3 separate regions of the Homo sapiens genome follow, and all the other regions are linked to region 3. The links are contacts of gene promoters, found by promoter capture Hi-C in human tissues and cell types (Jung and others, 2019). All regions are on one chromosome and are shown on one strand. The core of a region is centred on a gene start or on the middle of the fragment in contact, and the rest is flanking DNA. Distances in the headings are between cores, read along the strand shown.

Region 1 (2,700 bases), core at 91-2,590, 250 kb after region 3:
CAGTGAAGTTTACGGGTCTCGGAATGAGTGTGGCCAAGGGGCAAAGGGGAGGAGGGAGAGGGGGAGGTGGGGTTGCCTGAGAGTGCCCGCCCCAGGACAGCAGCCCGTAGCTCAGCCCCAAGAGCCCGGCACCGAGCTTCGAGCTGCGTGGCCCCGAAGAGGGGCTCAGTCACCTAATGTGATGAGGGGACGGCAGAGCAAAGGCTTGTCTGACAGTGACCGTCGTGTGTAGTGGAGAGGACGTGGCCAGAGATCTGGTTTCAGGGCAGGGATGAGGGGGGATTCCAGTCAGATCTTTTGCATCCCAGCAACCCTCCCCTTGACACCTTTGGGGCAGTGGCAGGGGATGACCATGGATGACCTCATGAGAACACTGTGGGTGTCAGGGACTCAGGGAGGCCCCGCAGGGCTTGAACATGCTTATGTTTCTCATTTGTAAAGGGAGGGCAGTCATCCGGTGGCTTCTTGTGGCCTCGGTGATGAAGGCCACATCAGAGCCAGGGGGAAAGGATATGAGAGAAAAAGATTCATTTGAATTATTGTCTTTTTCCTGGAGTGGAGAGATGTGGTACTCCCCAAAACTTCCTTTCTAGGCTGGGCACAGTGGCTCACGCCTGTAAAACCAGCACTTTGGGAAGCGGAGGCTGGTGGATCGCCTGAGGTCAGGAGTTTGAGACCAACCTGACCAACATGGTGAAACCCTGTTGCTACTACATACAAAAAAAATTAGCAGGGTGTGGTGATTGGCGCCCATAATCCCAGCTACTGGGGAGGCTAAGGCAGGAGAATCACTTGAACCAGGGAGACCGAGGTTGCAGTGAGCCGAGACTGCGTCACTGAACTCCAGCCTGAGCGACAAAGTGGGACTCCGTCTCAAAAAACAAGAAGAAAAAGAAACTTCCTTTGTGGACAGTGAGGGCTATTTAAAAAAATTTTGGAATATGAAAGTAGTCACTGGTGTCTGGAAGCAGGAGCTGTGCAGAATTGTACAGTTGCGAAACCATGTCGCTGGCAGCTGGTGCTGGCGGTGGAGACTTCCCTGTGCGGTGCTCAGTGCAGCTGCACCCGTGGGGGAGGGAGCTCTTTCTCTGGCCCTGCAGTCACCTGAGGTTGTTACCATTATGAACGGCCGCTGGGACCCCCGCATGTGCATGTACTCCCCCAGAGTGTCCGGGGGCCCCAGCCAAGGGACACAGCTCAGGCAGCTGGGAACATGTGCAGGCTGATGAAGAGAACCGGATGAGGGCTTCACATGAGGAAGCATGTGGCCAGGTCCTCTCAGAACATCAGCCTCATCTTCCTGTCTCTGATCTATTTCAGCAACCACCCCATGTGTCTCTAGAACCCCAGTGTAGCGAGCTGGAGAGAGGACTGTCCTGAGGGCAGCAGGCCTGGTTGCAGCTGGCGTGGGGGTCTCAGAATGGAGCCCTCAGCCCTGAGGAAAGCTGGCTCGGAGCAGGAGGAGGGCTTTGAGGGGCTGCCCAGAAGGGTCACTGACCTGGGGATGGTCTCCAATCTCCGGCGCAGCAACAGCAGCCTCTTCAAGAGCTGGAGGCTACAGTGCCCCTTCGGCAACAATGACAAGGTAGGCTTTCTGCTGGTCAGCCTGCAGTTGGCACGTGGCCACGGAGGTCACCGTTGGGCAGGTCATAGCTTGAGGCTGTGACGACGGGGGTGGGAAAGGGTCTGCTGACCTTGGGGGCTCCTGCCCAACCATACCTTTGGGAGAACAGAACTGGGGAGGGTGATGCGTGTCTCGTCTTCTGTGGGTTGCATGACCATTTCCCATGGTTGGTCTGATTGGGAAATCACCGGGTTAACTCAAAAATGTTGCGCTAGAGTCCTGGAAATCTGTTACCCGTGCTTACCTTGTTGCATAATGATTTCACATCCTTTATCCGATTGGGAGGGCCTGGGCCTGGGCTAGCTTTCCCCAAAGCCCTGGATACAAAGACACAAGTATGTTGAAAGCACATGGCATCTTGCAGTCCCCTTGCCAGGCAGGCAGGAGGGTGGCTGCCCTTTTTCCGATGGTGCAAGATCCAGGTCCCCAGATCCCCAGCCTCCACGTTTTCCACCACACCATGTTGTTCCCAAGGAAGGTGGTGGTGCTGTAGAAACTGTAAAGTGCGCGCACATTCAAAATGGTCCCAAGAGGAAATGATTTCTTAGATTCATTCCTCCCTCCTGAATCCCCACCGGAGAGTCTTGGCAAGGTGCTTCTAATCTTTGGCTCAGGGTCGCGCAGGCTTCCTTCCTTCAAGCAAATAGTGTGAAAGCTCCTCAAGGAGCTCAGATGTGTCTCCAGGGGGCTGGGTGTGCTCTTTCGAATGTTGGAAGATCTCAGTGTGCTGTCTTTACCTTCAGCAAGAAAGCCTCAGTTCGTGGATTCCTGAAAACATCAAGAAGAAAGAATGCGTGTATTTTGTGGAAAGTTCCAAACTGTCTGATGCTGGGTAAGTGACGTGATTTGTGTGTAAGACCTCTGACTTCTTCCTTCCGATCCCACATGGAGTAGCTGATCAGGCCAAGACCCCTCAGGGCCTCAGTGAAGGGTCACTGGAGATACCTCTGTCTCCATACGAGGCTTAGAGTCCACAGAGCATTTCCACCTAACCCTTGCAAGCCTCCTGTCGGGGACAGTTGACCCTCATCCTGCCTCGCAGGTGCAGGGACCAAAGTGCAGAGTTTAGGTGACTT
Region 2 (2,700 bases), core at 182-2,681, 150 kb after region 3:
CTGCCTCCTTCCAGGATCTCACCGTCACCCAGGCTGGAGTGCAGTGGTGTTATCATAGCTCACTGCAGCCTCGACCTCCCCAGCTCAAGCAATCCTCCCAACTCAGCCTCCTGAGTAGCTGGGACTACAGGTGCATGCCACCATGCCTGGTTAATTTTTATTTTTATTTTTTTGTAGAGACAGAGTCTCACTATGTTGCCTAGGCTGGTCTCAAACTCCTGGGCTCAAATGATCCTCCCACATTGGTCTCCCAAAGTGCTGGGATTATAGGTGTGAGCCACTGTGCCCCGTCTCTTTTGTCTGGTGTGGGCCAGTATGCAAACACTCACCTTCTATATTTCGCTGGTTAGCCTTGACTTCATATGCAATAAGATCTGGAAAGGAAGATAAGAAGTAGCCCCTTTCTTCTTCCTCTGATCTCTTAATTTAAATTCGGCCAGGAAGTGAGCATCACAATTCGTTTTCCAAAGTCACAGGAGCCTGAGGTCCCCTGCCATCCCGCCCTCACACCTTATCTTGGTGTGTTAAACGCCCATACCTGGGGGAAGACTGTGGGTGGGGAACCTCCTGCCCCAGCCCGGGTGCCTGAATAATGCATGAATACTCCAGAAGCCTGGAACTCCAGACCTCATCCAGGCCTGGGATCAGCATCCTAAGTGACTGGTCCAATAAGCAGATGAGCCCTCACCTCTGCCTGTCCCGGGTGAAACGGAGCTTGAGAGCTCACTGGATCCCACCAAAATCACGTCCATGCTGGGCTCGGCCTCTGGGTCCAGGGCTGGGATGGCCGCCATGGGGATGCTGTGTCAGGACACACGGACACAGATGTGAGAAAGCCGTCAGCCCCTGCTCAGATCCCTGATGCACCCCAGCACGGGAAGCAGCTTGCTGAGCAGACCTTGACTAGTTCAGGCCACCTGAACCCCCGCGGTGACACCCACCTGCCCAACCCAGGGATGAGGGGCAGGACAGCCAAGGCCAGTGCCAGCCCTGAGAGGGGCTCAAGGGTCCCCTGAGGCGTGCCCCCCACCTGCCTGGCCCTGTTACAACATGGAAGATGGGGCAAAAAGGGGAGGGCAGGGCCCTCATGAGGACCTGGGGCCAATGGCCGCTGCAGCCCCTGCTTTCCTCTGGGCCCAGCCTTCGACCCCTCAGGGACTCCCATGCCCCAGCCTCCTACAGTGTCCCTCAGGCCCAGCAGGGACCCCTGGGGATGGTCTTGGCCAGCCGCACCCTTGAAGGCAGCATGGTCAGGGAGTAGGAAAGAGACTCACAGGGCTGCTGCCACGGCTCCGGGTACAGCCAGCTGGTGGGTTCAAGGTTCCAGTGGTCCGGGGCTTCCAGGCTCAGGGTCCCCGGGGAGGACTGGGCCATGGAACGAGGGACGGCGCAGGCAAAGAATGAGCTGGAAGGATCCAGGCCCACCTGGGACAGCGGGTGGCCAGAGGTCACCAGGCTATGGGGGCAAAGAATCTGGGCGTGTCCCGCGGGGGCGGGGAGGGGCGGGGGCGGGGCAGCCCTTCAGTGCCGGTTTGCAGTGGGAGGGGCGAGGAGCTGCGGGGGGTCACTTGGGGTGGGGAGCTAGGAAGCTGGGGGACGGGCAGGGAAAGGGAACCCTCAGGTGGGGAGGGTTAAGAGCTCAGTGGGGCTGGGGGATTGGGGTTCAGAGGATGGGGCCCTCAGGGTGGAGTGAGGGGTGGGGTTTGGGGACCTCAGTGGGGAGTGGGGTTCAGGGGAGGGGTGGAGATGGGAGGACTGGGGATGGGGCAGATGAGGGGGGTTTCAGTAGAGGGGGGCCCTTGGGGTGGGGTGGGGGATAGGGGTGGCTGTGGGGTAGGGGCAGGGCGCTCAGAGGTGGGGTTTAGGAAGGTCATAGGGGTGGGCTTCAGGGCAAGGGTGAAGAAAGGGATGAGGGTGGAGGGTGGAGGGGTGGAGGGGTGGAGGGTGGAGGGTGGAGGGTGGAGGTAGGGCAGGGCGGGGGGTTAGGTGGAGTTGGCCCCCTGGGTGGAGATGGGTGAGGATTAGTGGAGGTGGCCCTCAGGGCAGGGTGGGTGGGTGGAGGGCGGGGCTTAGGGAGATCTGTTGGGGGATTAGGGAGTGGGGGTGGGGGTGGATGCTGAGTTGGAGATGGGGGCCTTCAGGGGAGGTGGTCCTTTGGCGGGATGGGGGTGATGATAGGGTGAGGGTGGGCACTCCGGGGCAGGGCTCAGTGGCGGGGGTCGGGGCTCAGGGCAAGGGTAGAGACGGGGTGAAAGTAGGAATGGGGGTGTGAGGCCGAGGATGGGGGTTTCAGGGGAGGTGGCCTTTAGGGCAGGATAGGGGTGAGAATGGGGTGGGGATGGGCCTCAGGGATCTCAGGGTCGGTTGGGATGGGAGTGGGGGTGGGGGTAGATGGTGAGGAGGAGATGGGGGTGTTCAGGGGAGGTGGTCCTCTGGCGGGATAGAGGGAGGGGCGTTCAGGAGCCGGGCTTGGGAGCTCAGTCTGGAGCCCCAGGTTTGGGGGGCAGCTGTGGGGGAGAGAAGGAAACAGGGAAGGCCCTGGAGGATGGGGTAAGGGGTGTTGGGTGGGGAATGTCAGGGCAGGTGGGGGGTTGGGGAGCTGGGAGGGGTAGGTTCAGGGTGGGGGTGGAACGTGGAAGCAGGGAAGGGAGCAGGAAGGTGGGGTGGGCAGAGGGGCAGTGTGGGAGGTGCGGGGTGGGT
Region 3 (2,700 bases), core at 89-2,588:
ATCCCATACAGAATTAGCAGAGAAAATACACACAGGCTTCTATTCAAATTTTCTTTAGTGCTTAAAATTAAGTTTTAAAATGAAATCAGACACTGCAGGTTTGTATATAAAATGAAAAGCTATACTACTTTTTACAAAAGGGCAAACTGGGCTGATGTAAATGTTTTACTTTCAACTGTGTTCTTTAAAATAAATCCTACCTGGTTTTTAAATTTTATTTTTCATGAAAATGCTCCTTTCTCTACATTTATTCATCCTATATACATCAGGCTGTAAGACCCCCCCCAGTCATCATTAATACAATGTGTTGGGATTCTGTGACTGGAAAAGGTGACAAGTTGGTGACTTTGACACTGCAGGTATTCCATTTTCATGGTTTACTATGAAAAGTCATTTTTCATATTATGTAATATATTGTTAGATTAAAACCATTGTATTAAGACTTTAAAATGTAAGCATTGTAATTCTGAAAATACACATTTTAAGAAGAAACTATTTTGCACTGGATCTTTTGCTGCGACATGGTGTGACAACAGTATGTAATGTGAAGATTTTATTGTTTTATCTCCCTAGTCCTTGTTCCTGACTCTTGGGCATAGATTATTTGCCTTTTGGGAAACATTCGGATTATTTTTTTTTTTTTTTTTTTTTTTTTCTCTGAGACAGTCATGCTCTGTTGCCTAGGCTGGAGTGCAATGGCGCGATCTGGGCTCACTGCAGCCTCCGCCTCCCAGGTTCAAGCCATTCTCCTGCCTCAGCCTCCCGAGTAGCTGGGACTACAGGCATGCGCCTCATTTTTATACTTTAGTAGAGATGATGTTTCACCATGTTGGCCAGGCTAGTCTCGAACTGCTGACCTCAGGTCATCCACCCGCCTCAGTCTCCCAGGCGTGAGCCACCGCACCGGCCAGCATTCGGGACTTTATTCATAATTCCTTACCCAACAGTTCACAAGAACGAAGACATTTGGGTGTGCAGCGCTCTCATGTTGTGGACGCTGCTGTGCCAGGCTGGGCGTCCGTGCGGAGCGCGCCCAGCGCTGGAGCGCGCCTAAGAGGCGCCCTGCAGTGTGGCTCCGGGGTGTGGGCGGGGCCCGGAGAAGGCCCCCGCCTTGGGAGGGGTTGGGCCTCGCGTTCAAACTCCGCCTCGGGGCGGGGCGAGGGCGACGCAGCTCCTCCTGCCTCCTGGGCCGCTGCGGACGGTGGTGCGCGACCCCGTCCCGGGCGCGCGCGCTGTGGGCGGTGCACGCCGTCGCTTCCCGGAAGTGCGTGCTGTGGGCGGTGCCGCGCGGACCCCCGGGAAGTGTCTCTGTGGGCGGCCGCCGGGTTGAGCTGCGGCACACGTGCGACGGCCGTGATGAAGTTCGCTTACCGGGTGAGCGCGGGCGGCGGGCGGTCTGTTGGATCGGCGCGGCTCTTCCGGTGGACGGCGCCTGAGCTGGCTCCGGGCGGGCTGGGGGCGCGTGGTCTGCTTTTGCGGCGTCTGGCCGCGTGGGGGTCGCCGGCTGTCTGCGCGCCCGTGGCCTCGGGGACGCGGGGCTGTGGTGGGGCTCCTGGGAGAGCTGGGACGGAGGCGCCGACGGCTTCTCGGAGGGAACAGGGACATTTGTCGGGGTCCCGGGATATTTTTAACCTGAGTATGGCCCAACCTAAAGGCTGGAGTTGGTGCAGTCGGGGAGGGCACAGCACCCTCGGGAGGGATGAGGAGGTGGGACGGGGCGGGGACGCGGGCGCGCGCAGGCGGGGTGAGAACAGCAGGGACCCGGGGCCCGGGACTGGTCCCTAACGAGCGAGCGTCCAGGTGAGCGGAAGGGCGGGGAACCCAGGTGTGAGCTCTGTTTCCCGAGGCCGGAGGGAATTCCTGAGGCGGACGCCCTCAGCTTTGAGAGCCAGGGAAGACTTGTCCCAGATGTGAAGTGCAGGAGGCGGGTGAGACAGGTAATAAGAGGGGGCCGTGGAGCCGGCCTGGGGGTCTCTGAAGCGTTTGCTACAGCTGGCCGGTTATGGGGACGCCTGTGTTTCCCACAGTGGCCCTGACCGTTGCGCTTCCAGGGTTGCACGGGCCGCCTGCTGCTGAGCCCACCGTGTACTACACTTGTCCTGTCCGAAACTGGGCATGGTACTGGCCCCTCAGAGTGCTGCTCCTGTGTCCCCTGTGCTGGTGGAGCCACCGCTGTGTGCCCAGCACCAAACCAGAAACCATATCCACGTCCTCACAGGCCAGGACTTCATCCGCTCCACATTCCTACTGCAAGGTGGCAAAAAATGTGCCTTGGAGCCTGCCTGGCCGCTTAAAGTCCTTCTGCTGACCAAGCTCCTCCCTGAGGTCCTGAGGGCGCTGCCCACTCACAGCTTCAGGGCCTGGCTGGTGCCTTCCCATTTAGATTCCAGCTCAGGTGACCCTTCCAGGTGCCTCTCCGTGACCACCGTCTAAAGTAGCCCCTGCTCCCACACTTCTCATCCCCCTCCTGCTAGAGAGAGAATATAAGGTGTGCGTGTCTGTGCGCATGGCAGTCTCCAGTGAACGCTCGTGCTCGTGAGTTAGTAAATAGGATGCTGGCTTACCACACTTCTGGAAGCCCTGAGTTCTAAGCACTTTTGGGGTGCTGTTCCATTGTTGCAGCTTTTTTCTTGGTGAAGTGTGGGCTCCATGCCCCTCTTCACCTGGCAGACGCCTCCTGTCTTGGGAGGCTTCCTCAGT

The links. The method cuts DNA at HindIII sites, captures the fragments that hold promoters and counts their contacts. A contact is called where the count stands out against the background at its distance.
Region 1: a contact is called between the fragment with the promoter of TRPM2 here and the fragment with the promoter of PWP2 in region 3, in 3 of the 25 tissues and cell types used here (lymphoblastoid cells, spleen and thymus).
Region 2: the fragment with the promoter of DNMT3L here is called in contact with the fragment with the promoter of PWP2 in region 3 in 2 of the 25 tissues and cell types used here (lymphoblastoid cells and mesenchymal stem cells).

Annotation. Positions count from the first base shown.
Region 1 is chr21:44,352,281-44,354,980 of GRCh38, forward strand. TRPM2 (transient receptor potential cation channel subfamily M member 2) reads left to right here and starts at 1,341. Exons shown (of 32, transcript NM_003307.4): 1 at 1,341-1,585; 2 at 2,368-2,456. The coding sequence starts at 1,421. RefSeq lists enhancers at 1,557-1,606, 1,767-1,816. The HindIII fragment of the contact is 21,861 bases long and covers 1-2,700 here.
Region 2 is chr21:44,260,466-44,263,165 of GRCh38, forward strand. It overlaps DNMT3L (DNA methyltransferase 3 like), which reads right to left and starts at 1,432. Exons shown (of 12, transcript NM_175867.3): 1 at 1,275-1,432; 2 at 689-801; 3 at 330-374. The coding sequence starts at 794. RefSeq lists an enhancer at 1,147-1,706. The HindIII fragment of the contact is 12,940 bases long and covers 1-2,700 here.
Region 3 is chr21:44,106,061-44,108,760 of GRCh38, forward strand. It overlaps PWP2 (PWP2 small subunit processome component), which reads left to right and starts at 1,339. Exons shown (of 21, transcript NM_005049.3): 1 at 1,339-1,374. The coding sequence starts at 1,357. TRAPPC10 (trafficking protein particle complex subunit 10) reads left to right here. Exons shown (of 23, transcript NM_003274.5): 23 at 1-492. RefSeq lists silencers at 885-1,401, 992-1,375. The HindIII fragment of the contact is 7,831 bases long and covers 1-2,700 here.